3 separate regions of the Homo sapiens genome follow, and regions 1 and 2 are each linked to region 3. Evidence: promoter capture Hi-C in human tissues and cell types (Jung and others, 2019). All regions are on one chromosome and are shown on one strand. Each heading gives the region's core, a stretch centred on a gene start or on the middle of the fragment in contact. The rest is flanking DNA. Distances are from core to core; before and after follow the strand shown.

What was found. Contacts are between HindIII fragments. The study calls those that stand out against the background at their distance.
Region 1: a fragment that was not itself captured here is called in contact with the fragment with the promoter of SYNDIG1L in region 3 in 3 of the 25 tissues and cell types used here (H1 embryonic stem cells, lymphoblastoid cells and mesendoderm cells).
Region 2: a contact is called between a fragment that was not itself captured here and the fragment with the promoter of SYNDIG1L in region 3, in 3 of the 25 tissues and cell types used here (H1 embryonic stem cells, mesendoderm cells and thymus).

Annotation. Positions count from the first base shown.
Region 1 is chr14:74,293,483-74,297,708 of GRCh38, reverse strand. It overlaps ABCD4 (ATP binding cassette subfamily D member 4), which reads left to right. Exons shown (of 19, transcript NM_005050.4): 5 at 1,260-1,376; 6 at 1,730-1,855; 7 at 2,511-2,561. Among named protein-coding and RNA genes, the nearest start is that of ABCD4, 7.3 kb to the left of the region's middle. The HindIII fragment of the contact is 3,358 bases long and covers 1,082-4,226 here.
Region 2 is chr14:74,262,610-74,267,022 of GRCh38, reverse strand. VSX2 (visual system homeobox 2) reads right to left here. Exons shown (of 5, transcript NM_182894.3): 5 at 4,285-4,413. Among named protein-coding and RNA genes, the nearest start is that of VSX2, 25 kb to the right of the region's middle. RefSeq lists an enhancer at 994-1,494. The HindIII fragment of the contact is 8,384 bases long and covers 1-4,413 here.
Region 3 is chr14:74,424,100-74,428,739 of GRCh38, reverse strand. It overlaps SYNDIG1L (synapse differentiation inducing 1 like), which reads left to right and starts at 2,530. Exons shown (of 4, transcript NM_001105579.2): 1 at 2,530-2,828. The HindIII fragment of the contact is 14,133 bases long and covers 1-4,640 here.

The sequences.
Region 1 (4,226 bases), core at 1,511-4,010, 130 kb after region 3:
ATGCACCTGTAGTCCCAACAACTCAGGAGGCTGAGGCAGGAGGATCACTTGAGCCCAGGAGTAGTGCACCGTGAGCACACTTGGGAATAGCCACTGTACTCTAGCCTGGGCAACATAGCAGAAACCCCCATCTCTTAAAAAAAAGAAAAATGTTAGGAGCAGCTTTCTTTTGTCCTTTTCATACTTTATATCTTAGTCTTCCAGTAAGAAGACTAAGGGGTTTCTTTAGAGGGTTCTAAAGAAAATGTCCTTGCTAGAAAAACCAGCTCTTAGATTTTCATCAGTAAAAAAAATTACCACTATCCAGGACTCAGTCTAGGATTCACATCTCCATTCTATCACCACTCAGGTTATAACTCTTAAAGTCACCAAGCCCCAGGTTCCCCTTCTGTAAAATGAGGACAATAATAGTTCCTATCTCAAAGGGTGTAGTGAGGATGAAATATCATTCATGTAATGCACATGTACAGTGCTTGACACATAGCAAGTGTTTCAGTGTAAGTTAGCTATTGTTATTTTACAGATGAGGAAGCTGAAGCCCAGAGATTGCAAGTGACTTGCCCAAGGTCACGTCACTCATTGGGAATAGGAATCAGTATGGCCCTAGTGGTGAGATGAGACATAGGGGGTCTCCTTCACACCCATCCCCTCACTCACCACCTTCCTAGCAAGCACTTTGTTGGTTGGGGTACCTCTCAGCTCAAGCTTAGCTTTGGTGCAAAGATGCGTGGGAGGCTGCTGCTGCTGCCTAACTTCTAGGCCTCTTTCTGATGGCTATGGCTTCCATCCTGCCTCTGCCCCCTGAGTAGCTGGGACTACAGGTGTGCCTCACAGCCTGGAGCTTTCACAGCCAGATAACTAAAGGGGCCAGGCTAGGGCTTATATAAGAGAAATTTGGGAGGATTGAGATAAAGGGGATAGTCTTCTTGATCATCCAAAACAGCTCATCTACCTTCAAGTTTTTCTTTGGCTCTGCTCAGAGCTGGCTCAGGCCCCTGGGTACTGGACCTTTCAGTTCCCACTTTTTCAGGGGATTAACTAAGGCACCGTAAGATGCAACTCTCTAGAACCCTGTTTAAAGGCCCTGGGATTTAGTTGCCCCTAGGAAACCAGCCTTGTCTGGTTCCCTCTTCCCATAGGGTCAGTGTTCACAGCACTGTGAGGCAAGGTCAAGAGCAGAGGTGATGTGAAAGTTTCTTGTTCTCTCTACCTTTGGGCCCATCTCCCTGGGTCCAGCTACTCTGTGTCATTGGCTCCAGGGACCAGCGCATCAGCCAGGACGTGGAGCGATTCTGCCGGCAGCTCAGCAGCATGGCCAGCAAGCTCATCATCTCCCCGTTCACCCTCGTCTACTACACTTACCAGTGCTTCCAAAGGTGAAGCCTCCCTCCTCCCCAGCCTGGTGTTTCCCCAGAGGGCCCTCAGTCAGCTCTCCCAGGTCAAGGTCCAAGAGAAGCTTATTTCCCCTCTCTCCCACCGTACCTTACCACGTGCTCACCCATCCCACGTGCTCAGGCCCCTGCCCTTCCTTTGGCCCTGTGTTGCAGTGTCACAGATATCCTGGCTCTGAGAGCTCATACCAGATGCCCCCACATAGGAGCAGAGGGCCCATTGGGCCACTCAGATTGGACAGGGGCTACCTGAGAGGGAACAGGAGTCAGGGCTGAGGCATGTGGGGATAGGTGGCACCCCACACCCTCTCCCTTCTCTCCCTCTCTCTCTATTTCAGCACAGGCTGGCTCGGGCCTGTGAGCATCTTCGGGTATTTCATCCTGGGGACCGTGGTGAACAAAACTTTGATGGGCCCCATTGTGATGAAGCTGGTGCATCAGGAGAAGCTGGAGGGAGATTTTAGGTGTGTCTCCCTCACTTGAGGTTTCTGGGCTGGGGCATAATAGTTAAGGAAGGGGATCTGGAGTAAAACTGCCTAAGTTCAAATCCTAGCTGTGCCAGTTACTAGCTGTGTGATCTTGGAGAGGTCTTTAACCTCTCCAAGCTTCAATGTTCTTGTCTCTAAAGTGGAAATGGTACCGTTGCCTACTGAGAGGATTAGGAGGATTAATGAAATCATACCTGAGAAGGTCTGAGAACCGTGTCTGCCTGGCCATCACCATCGTCATTGTCATCTCTTGGCCTTCTCACTGCCCTGGCATAACCGCCCTGTCTTGGATCAGTTGGGTGTGGCAGCCAATGGATCCAGTGCCTGCCCTGTGCTTCTTGTCCCCCTCCTTTGGGCCAGGCCCTGGGAGGAGGAGATGCTGTGAGCAGGAATACCCCTGTCCTCTCTGCAGAAAGCTGAGGGGCAGCCCTGTCTCTGCAGAGCTCCTGCCACACCACCTAGCCCTGGGGTTTTCTACCCCATAACAGTCCAGGAAAGGGTCAGACTGAGGCAGCCACGGTTTTGAGGCAGAGCCGGGCTCCGCTTGGGCGGTCTTTGTGATCCAGGACTCCAACAAGAGTGAGGCCAGTACTCCCTGTTGTCAGCACACATTTCCCTTTGGTCCGCCCAGGTTCAAGCACATGCAGATTCGGGTGAATGCGGAGCCTGCTGCTTTCTACAGGTGAGTCTGGAGAGATGGTTCCCCTTCTGCCTTGCCAGAGCTGAGAGTGGAGAAGGAAAGATGAATCCTCAACCCTCCCACCACCACCGAGCTCAGGGGCTGAGTGTTGTCACACTTGGCTGTGACCCTCTCCCTCTACCTCCCCCTGCCCTTGCCTGCCTCATCCTTAGGTCCAGGGGTTTGCTTCTGAAGCTGGTGGTTCCTTACTGTGGCCAGCTTTAGTCTTAGTGGCCTAGCGTGGGGCCTGAAATTGTCAAATGAATGAATGCCTCATCCTCTTGCTGGTGACTGTAAGACATCCGTCTGCCTCTGCTCTTCTGTCTGTTAAGAAGCTTTCTTGCCAGTGCCTGAGGTTCAAGCCTGATCCTTTGTCTCCGTAGCGTGGGATGGAATGGGAGCTTCTCAGAAAACCAGGAGACCTGCTCCCCACAATGCTGTCTAATGGAGCCAAGCGTCTGGTCTCCTGACGGCAGCAGCAGGAGCAGCAGCAGCGGCATGAAATCCCATCCCTTCCCTCCAGGGCCAGAACCGGTCCCTGTGCTCTGCCTTATGTGAGGCCTCTGAAATCAGCGTTAGGATTGATAGTGCAGGCAGAGGTTTGCGTTTAAGAAGTGGAAGCTACTCCTTGGCTCTGTACTTGGGGTGGATGTGATAGCCCTGGGACCTTTGCTCCTCAGTCTCTGCTGCAGTTTGCAACCTCCACCACTTGAGGGCACCAAGAATACTGGGAATCTGCGCTGGGGTGGGGTTGTGAGGTGGGCAGGGCTGGGTGTGTAAAAAAGTTGCTTTTGGAGGCCGGGCATGGTGGCTCATGCCTGTAATCCCAGCACTTTGGGAGGCCGAGGCGGGTGGATTGCCTGAGGTCAAGAGTTCGAGACCAGCCATGGCCAACATGGTGAAACCCTGTCTCTACTAAAAATACAAAAAATTAGCTGAGCATGGTGGCGGGCACCTGTAATCCCAGCTACTGGGGAGGCTGAGGCAGGAGAATCACTTGAATCCGGGAGGCAGAGGTTGCAGTAAGGCAAGATCCTGCCATTGCACTCCAGCCTGGGTGACAGAGCAAGACTCCGTCTCAAAAAAAAAAAAAGAAAAAAGTTGCTTTTGGATTCTGCAGCCTCTGCTCATGAAGCTCTGGGGAAGGCAGGTTAGTTTGTAGAGTTTCAGATGAGTTCTTCTGTGGCCTCTGTGCAAAATCTGAAATCTCCCTCCACCTTTTCTGCCTAGCGAATTTCTTCCCATCCTTGAAACCCCAGATCACCTCCTCTGGAGAGCCTTCCCAGACTCCCTTAATGGCTAAGCCTATCTGCTGCCATGGCCCTGAGGGCACACTTAGTACTCCTGATTCCAAGTGAAGAATGCAGTGTGCCTGCCTGCCCTCTGGACTGAGAGCTCCTCAAAGACAGAGATAATTTTCTCATTTCTTTATTGCACTAGCTAACTAGTGCAATGCCTGGTACACCTAGTGACCGCTCTGTGTATGTTTATTTAACAATAGTTTTTATTTATTGAGGGCTCCTTATGTGCTTGGCACTTTATATTTAGAAACTTTTAATTCTAACTCTAACCTATTACATAGGTATTATTGGCTCCATTTTATAGATTAAAAAAACTGAGGCTTGGAGGCTTAAGTAGCCTGCCTGTGTCACGCAGCTAGTAACTGGC
Region 2 (4,413 bases), core at 1,256-3,755, 160 kb after region 3:
TTAGTAGGTGGGTCCTAATAGCTGATGAGGTCATAAGGGAGAATGGATTAACATTATCATGGTAGTAGGCCTGTTATAAAAGCAAAGTCGGCCCCCTCTTGTTCTCTAACACATGCTCTTGTGCCCTTTTATCTCCCACCATGTTGTGACGCAGCAAGAAGACACTCACCAGATGCAGTCCCTCAACCTTGGACTTTCCAGCCTCCAGAACTGTAAGAAATAAATTTCTTTTCTTTTCTTTTCTTTTTTTTTTTTTTTGAGCTGGGGTCTGGCTCCATTGCCGAGGCTAGAGTGCAGTGGTGCAATCTTGGTTCACTGCAACCTCTGCCTCCCAAGCTCAAGTCTTGTGCCTCAGCCTCCTGAGTAGCTGGGACTATAGGCATACACCACGCCAAGCTAATTTTTGTATTTTTCCTAGAAATGGGGTTTCACCATGTTGGCCAGGCTGGTCTCGAACTCCTGGCCACAAGTGATCTACCCACCTCAGCCTCCCAAAGTGCTGGGATTACAGGTGTGAGCCACCACACCAGTCTCTCTTTTCTTTATAAATTACTCAGTCCATGGTATTCTGTTATAGCCACACAAAATAGACTAAGACACCCCCTCACCCAGCGTTGCCTCTTATTGACATCGATATTAGTATGGTACCTCTGTTGAAATTGATGGGCCAGGCTGCCTCAGCTCCACACTCTGAAGAGAGGTGGGGAAGGCACTGCAGTAGGAGAAAGACTTCAAGGCCCCAGTGAGCTGTTGGGTGCAGGAGACACAAGAGGCTGGAGGGCCAGCAGGAGGCTGGGACCAAGGTCCCAGCGATCCCTGAGATCGAGTCCCTCTTTCTTGCAGCAGCTGCTCTCTCCAGGCCATAGGACTGGCCTCAGAAACTCCCCCACTGTCACCAGCCCTGCTTGCCACTCTCCCACTCCCAGCCAGACTCCTCCTCATCTTTCCCTGCCAGGCCTGCTCACCAGCACCCGCAATCCTCATGAACCAGCCCCTCCTGCCCCTGTAGCTCTCTGCTGCTCTTCTTGGGGCACGCAGCCATCTCTTGGCAGCCTGTTAGCCCAGCAGAACCTGGAATAAAATCTCCCTTCCAGGAGCCAGGTGTCAGGGTCAGAGGGAAGAAGACACTCCTGGGGTACAATCCCACCTAACAGGACTTCTCTCTTTGTTCTGCCTCATTTGGGCCTGGCCATCCAGGCCTTCCTTTCCTGTCCAGCCTCTCCCCTCATCGATTACTTGTAAACCTATTTGCATTTCCTTGTGCAGAGAGCTGCTTGCTTCTCCTCCGGGCAAATCCCCTGAGGTGATCGTCCAAGAGGATTTCTGCTATCTCCCAAGGCTCTGAGTGTCCCAGTTGTCCCCTAGGCCTACCCGAGGGTGGGGCAGCTGCCAAGGATGCCCCCTGGGCTTGAGAGGCTTGCGTTGGCCCCTCCACCTTTCCTTTGTGCTGTACGGTGCCTTTCTCCACGTCCTCGCTTCTTCCTGGATACTCTACGCCACAACGGGCGGAGCAGATGTTACTCTTCCATTTTATAACACAGAGAGAGGGTAAACACCCCGGCCCAAGGCCCACAGATGGTCAGGTCATCCTATTAGATGCTTTCACGGTTTCTTACAGCATGCCTCCAAGTTCACAGGACATTTGCAATTTTATATTTTATTTGTATGGTTACTTAAATGCTGTCTTTCCCTCCAGACTGTAAGTGCCATGAGAACAGGGAACTTGGGGCCAGGCGCGGTGGCTTACACCTATAATCCCAGCACTTTGGAAGGCTAAGGCAGGCAGATCATTTGAGGTCAGGAGTTCGAGACCCCATCTCTATGAAAAATACAAAAATTTAGCCAGATGTGGTGGCATATGCCTGTAATCCCAGCTACTCAGGAGGCTGAAGTAGAATTGCTTGAACCCAGGAGGCGAAGGTTGCAGTGAGCCGAGATTGTGCCACTGCACTCTGGCCTGGGTGACAGAGTAAGACTCTGTCTCAAAAAGAAAAAAAAAAAACAGGGAATCTGGGACTGCTTTGCCTACTACTATATCCCCAGTGCCTTGCCCCACTGCCTGATACATATTAAATGCTCAGTCATTATTTTTAAATTATTGAATAAATGATGAATTATAGGCAGAACATTCATCTGTGCATTCAATAATGGATTGAGGGTCAGGCCCTTTGATGGGTCCTGGGATAAAAGAAGAAGAAGATGTAGTGCCACCCTTGAAGAAATCCGTCTTATGGGAAAGATAGACTTGTAAATAAAAAAATTACATAATCCCAGTACTTCGGGAGGCTAAGGCAGGCAGATCACGAGGTCAGGAGTTCAAGACCAGCCTGACCAGCCTGACCAACATGGTGAAACCCTGTCCCTACTAAAAATACAAAAATTAGCTCAGCATGGTGGCACGCACCTATAATCCCAGCTACTCAGGAGGCTGAGGCAGGAGAATTCCTTGAACCCAGCAGGCGGAGGTTGCAGTGAGCCGAGATCCTGCCTCTGCACTCCGGCCTAGGCGACAGAGTGAGACTCCATCTCCAAAAAAAAAAAAAAATTACAACACAACGTGGAAAATGCCATAATCAGGAATGTCCCAAGTGCTGTCAGAGAACAGAGGTTATAAACTTGCTGGCTGGGCGCAGTGGCTCATTCCTGTAATCCCAGCACTTTGGGAGGCTGAAGTGGGAGGATTGCTTAAGCCCAGGAGTTCAAGACCAGCCTGGGCAACATAGTGAGACCTCATCTCTACTAAAAATCAGCCAGCATGATGCACACCTGTAGTCCCAGCTACTCGGCAGGCTGAGTTGGGAGGGCACCTTGATCTGAGAGCTCAAGGCTGCAGTGAGCCATGATCACAACACTGCACTCCAGCCTGAGCAACAGCAGGACCCTGTCTCAAAAATAAATAAATCAGCAAATAAATACACTCTTCCTGGAAGGTCAGGAGGGCTTCGGAGGGGAGGGGACTGGAAGGTTGACAAGTGGTTTACTTCCTGGAGGGTTGGAGAAAGACATTCCCAGACCGAGGATGAATCCTGCAGGAGCTGACATGCCGGGGAAGGCCTGGGAGCAGCCTGGCACGGCAGGACTTGAAGCCAGGCTCATGGCTCTTTCCCATCCCCACACAGGAGCTGGAGATTTCCCACATGTGCCCCTCAGGGTCCTGGTCTGCGAGGACCACATCTGGGTCCAATCCAGGGTATTAGGACTGCTGACCTCCTGTCATTCTCCTTCGCTGATGGGCTGCCAGAAACCTCATCCACGAGGGAGTTCACATCTAAGCCAATTTGAAACAATCTTACGAGATTTCTTGGGCCCAAATCTCAAATACAGCCTATCTCATCTGCTCACCCCGCTCTCTCATCTCGTAATTCCATCCATCACATCATCAAGTCGGTGGGTCACAGCTGTCAGTAGACAATTTCATATGGTCTTCCTCGAGCTGTTTCTCTTTGACTCTCCTTCCCTTTGACACGGATTTAGCATAATCTGTCTGGCTTTCAACTCCAGATACTGTTACCTCTTTCGTTTGTTGTTGTTTAGGTTGAGGGTAAGATGTGGAAGGGCACAGGTGTGCACAAAAGGAAGGGAGTTCTCTTGGGGGCCAAGGTGGGCTGTGAGCTTCCGCAGAGGGCAGTAGGAAACAGGGTTATCAGTAAGTCAGTACCAAGGAGAGAGGCAAATGCCGACTACTATGTGGGGAGTAGGAGGGAGTCAGAGGTAAGAACTATGGATCGTTGGGACATTTAGGTTGTGTCGATCATGGAGGCCAATCCCATGTCACAGTGACGAATGTCATTGAAGGGTGGTATCGGCTCAGTGGAGAGACGTAGGCCACTTGTACCTCTACAATTAGAGTAATTTTTTAAAAAAGGAACCCAGTAATTTTGACCTAAAATATCAACTTGTAGATTTACTTTTTTTTTTCGAGACAGGGTCTTGCTCTGTTGCCCAGGTTGGAGTGCAATGGCATGATCTCAGCTCACTGCACCCTCAACCTCCCGGGTTTAAGCAATCCCCCTGCCTCAGCCTCCTGAGTAGCTGGGATTACAGGAGTGTGCCTCCACCCCTGGCTACTTTTTATATTTTTAGTAGACACAGGGTTTCACCATGTTAGCCAGGCTGGTCTCGAACTCCTGACCTCAAGTGATCTGCCCACCTAGGCCTCCCAAAGTGCTGAGATTACAGGCATGAGCCATCGCACCCAGCCGTAGATTTACTTTTTATGCCACCCATACACACGGAACACAAACCATTCCCCACCCACAGTGGACTCCTGGATTTCTCCCCTACTATTTTTAAGTCAATTTTATTCTTACTTGTATCTTTACAGAAAATGGCACAGAAATCACAGGTTTCGAATACCTAGAAGTTATTACAGTTCCATATTTCAAACACCTCAATATCAAGTTTCTTTCTTCT
Region 3 (4,640 bases), core at 1,281-3,780:
CTCATCTGTTCACTCCGGCCTTCCTACCAACAATCCCCTCCTCCCATGGCCTGCCTGGTGACTGTCTCATCCTTTAATAAAACTCAGACCTTCTCCAGGAAGCCTCCTGGGACTTCCCCAGGCAGGGTGAGTTGTTTTCTTCTCTGGCACTCTTCACTTACTCCATGACAGCATTTATCACAAGGTGTTGGAATTGCTGGTCAACATGTCTATGGACCGCATCCCCTTCATTGCAGCTCCTTCAAAGGCCTGGACAATGGTTTATACTTTCCATTCTTGGTGTCTAACAGAGGGGTTGATTTTCATTACATGGCAGGAAATGCTTGATGGAAAAAGGAAGGGAGGGATAAAGAGAGAATGGAAAAAGAATGGAAACTTTGCATGGTTGTAGATTCTTCAGTCCCTAAGCCACCCCTGTACCTTGTGAGAGGTAAAGGTTAGTTTCCCGGGAAGAAATTCTTATCACTGCATTACCCACTGTTCTCTGTCACAAGCATCATACATTGCTGATTGCACTTATAGTTTCTTCAGAGCTATTGAATTATAAGAAAGCAAAGGCCCAGGAAGATTAGGCGACTGCCTAAGGTCGCACAGCCAATTAATGACAAAGGCGAGACTAGAACCTGGGTCTCCTGGCACCAGGCCAGGGCCCTTGATACAACACCAACAGCCTCTCTTTGAGTTTTCCCTCCAGGCAGCAGCATGTAATTATCAACATTAGTATTTAGAATTTATATGCGGCTTTTGCTTCACTGGCTTTTTTATTATCCTTTCAATTAGTATTTCAGTATGCAGCCCAGGCATGGAGCACAGCCAGGGTGGGGAGGGGAGCAGCAGAGGGAGGCCAAGGCCAAGTAGGTGGCCATGAGCCCCTGTGAGAGGAAGGCCAGAGAAAGCAAAGGTACAGGAGGGTGGCCTGACATCAGAGACAATGTCTTGTGTGTGTGTCTGTGTGTGTCTATGTGTGTCTGTGTTGTGTGTGTGTCTGTATGTCTGTGTTTTGAGGAGGAGGGTGTCTGTGAAGATGAAGTATGGGCCTGAGATGAGTGGTCCAAGACCCTTGCTGGCCTCAGGGGGCTTCTCACTGCATTATCCACTAATGGGGCAGAGACAGGAAGAGCAATAATATATTTAGCACCCAACAAGTTAAACACCAATACCAGCCCTGAGACAGACCCCAGGATAAGGGAGTTCTCTGTCCTGCCTTGAAGGGAAGGAGACCCAAGCCCCATGATGTGGACTTGCTCCTGGCTCCTACTGTGCACTCTAGGAGCTACACCGAACTGTGCCAGATGCCCACATCCTGTGGGAGTGAAGGAGTCCTGGAGTCCACCATGCTATGTGCTATAGCATCCTCAGCTGGATGCTAGGAGACTAGTGGATGCTAGTGGAATCCCACTGCCAGACCCTGGTTCCTTGTGTCTTCCAGCCCCAGCTGCAGCCTGCTCTGTGGTTTACTTTGCAAACCCACACTTACCTTCAGAAAATGAGAATACTCTCTCCTCCTGACCTCCTGGGACTTTGGTGAGACTCAAGACCTTGTGAAGGCGCTCGAAGAATAGGTTCATCCACTGGTAACACTCAAGATAGGGCATCCCCATGCAAAAAAAAAAAAAAAAAAGGAAACGCAGGTGGAGGTGGATAAAGAGCAGCACAGGGTGGAGACAAAGCAGCCAAAAGGCCTGCATTCGGATCTCAGGGCTCTTGCTGGGAAAACTCAGGGGGACGCTCACTCACTGAGTGCCTATTGAGTGCCAATGTGTCACGTATGTCATCTCATTTTGTCCTCATATGACCCCTCACTTTGTCCATGAGGAACCTGAGGCTTTAAGAGGTTAGGTAACTTGCTCGAGGTTATACAGCAAGTGGGACCCTAGGACCAAAACTTAGGTCCATGAGCTTTAAAACCTGTGCCCTTCCCAGCACAGCACTGAATCTCCAAATCACAGGATTTCATCCTTGTGAGCCCAGCGTCCTGGTCTGCAAAATTGGAGGGGGAAGGGGGACAGGGGGAGGGGGGCAGGGGGAGGGGAAGAGGGGAAGAGGGGCACTATATTGCCTAATAGAGTTGTTAAGAAAATTAAATGAGCTTATGTTGATTAAACACATTATCGGGCTTGGTATCTGGTATATAGTAGGTGCTCAATAAATGCTTTCTGTTTGTTTTTCTTTTTAGGGCAGATCAATGTTAAAAACTCAGGGCTGGCTTTGGAGCCTAGGAGCTCCAAAATGCTTCAAGAAGCCCAAGGGCCTCCCATCGCTCTGGGGTGCGCGGGAGGAGGGGAGAGAAGGGCTGGGAAAGAGGGCTCGGCTCCAGGAAGCGGGTACGCGGGTTCCAGCTGCGCGCCCCTCGCTTCGCCGCCTCCTCCGGGCTCCCCCGACTTCCCGCCCCGCCCCGCCCCGGAGCCGGGTCCGGAGTGCCTGGTGGGCTGATTCCGGAGCGTGGAAGGGAGCACGGAGCACGGAAGCGAGAGGGAGGCGGCGGCGGCGGGAGGCGGGAAGGAGGGGGACCCTCCTCGCTGCTCTCCCAAGTCGGCGCGGAGCCGCCTCGGGCCGGGCCGAGGGCTGCGCGGCGGCGGCGGCGGCGGGGCCCGGCCAGGATGCGGGGCTCCCGGGACCGCGCGGGGCGGGGCGGGCGGCGGCGGCGGGCTGCGGGCGGGAGCTGTCCGCGGTGCTGAAGCGGCGGCTGCTCAGGGACGCGGGGACGAGAGCAGGGGAGCCCTCCTGGGAGTTCCACCGCGACCGCGAGGCGGGGGCGCCGTCGCTCACCGGCCCATGCCGAGCCCCCGAGCCCCGCGGAGGAGGCGGGACCGTCCGCGGCGGGACAGGTAAGGGGCGGTCTGGGGGCGCCGCGGGAGCGCAGAGCTAGGCACGGAGCGGGGAGTGAGCTGGGGAGGGCACGGGAGCCCTCTCGGGGCTAGGGGCTCTGACTCCCTGCTTGGCCGCACCTTGCGCTCCGCCAAGGCTTGCACTTCGTCCCTCCCTACCCCTCATCCTGCAGGCTGGGGGTGCTGGGAGGGGGCTGATGAACTGGGGTCAAGACACCATAACCTCACAACATCAGGCCTTGACCCTGACCTCAGGCAGCTCCTAGACATCCTGCCTACTGACGGCAAGAAATACTGATTAGAGCCTCAGACTCCCTGGTACCCCAGTCCCCACCAAGGTTTTGCGACACTAGCAAAATCTGAGCAGGCTTCACTAAGCTCCCCTCTTCTCGCACCCAAACCTGTTCACCCAGGTGACTGAGGTGGCTGTGGTACCCCCTGCTCTGAGATTTCTCTGCCCTGGAAATGGCTCTTGGGCCAAGGGATTGGCTCTTGGGCCAAGGCCCCTTAGGATGGATTAACCCATTTCTTCAGGGAAGGAAGGAGGTCCTGGAAGATACCTCAATTTTTTTTCCTATGACACTCTTGACGCTCACAGAAGCAGGCAGGATTTGCATCACATCTCTTGGCGCATGAGGGCAAAGAGTCAGGGAACCTGGGTCCTGTTTTCTATTATGTGCTGGTGACCCTAGACAGAGCCTCCATTAGGAGTTCTCTCTCTTTCTGGCAAGAGTGCGCTGAATGAGCTCATTCAGGCCTGCAAAGTGCTTCTAGTTCTTCAGAGCAGAGTTCTCTATGACTGGCAGAATGTAGCGATCAAAATAAAACTGCGTGGAGGAAGAATTGGCCTACCCTTGTGGCTGACCACTTCTTTCTACTGCTTTATCCCCACCCTCCAACCCAACACAACTTCCCTACCCCCAGGGGTAGAAAGAGCACTAGAGTAGGAGTTCCTGGCTGGGTGCTGGCATTTACTGGCTTTAGCTAGTTCCCTAAGCTCTTTCAACCTCATCCTCCTCACCCCTGGAGTGGGGATAAGGTCACCGCTCTGCTCACCTCAGGGAACTGCCTTGGGGCCCAATGAAAAACAATGCACCTGATTGGAGGCTTGCCACCTGTACATCTCCATACCAGTGTGCGCTGCTGTCACTGTTCCCAACCCCTAGCCAGGCCTGCTGTCAGTGACCTGATTATTGTCACCCCTACCCCCTCTTCTCCCAGCATGGCCATGTCTCCCTTTGTCCTTGGCCACCGTGGGGTCCCAGAATCAGTGAAGCCAAACTTATAAACCTTAAGGAGAAAAAAGTGTGCCCTCCCTTCTTCTCCTCTTCCATCATCACCTATAGGAGATAATATAAGGTAAGAGTCTGACTCACCGGTTTTTATTTTTTCTCCCTAAGAACCACAGATCTAGGGAAAGAGCTCCCTGAAGGCAGGAATTGTGTTGTTTTCATCTCTTTGTCCCCCTTCATGACCCCCTCCCCAACAGCACCTGGAAGATAGTAAGGACTCGGTAATCGGGTGTAAAATGAGGGAATGAAATGTTAAAGTGTATCAGAATAAAAGCATTTAACTGGGAGTCAGAAGCCCTGTGTTCTGGTCACAGATCCGCCGCTGTCTCAGGCAGGTCCATTCCCCTCTGGGGGTTCATTTTTCTCATCTGTAAAAGAAGAGAGTTGGGCTAGATGAGTTAAGATTTCAAGCCCTGATATTCTGTAGGGCTTTCTGAGGCTGTCCTAAACCCATAAACCCCTCAATTCTGCTTGAATACAGGATGCCGGCTTTATCAACCTGGTTTGACAACAAAGTTAA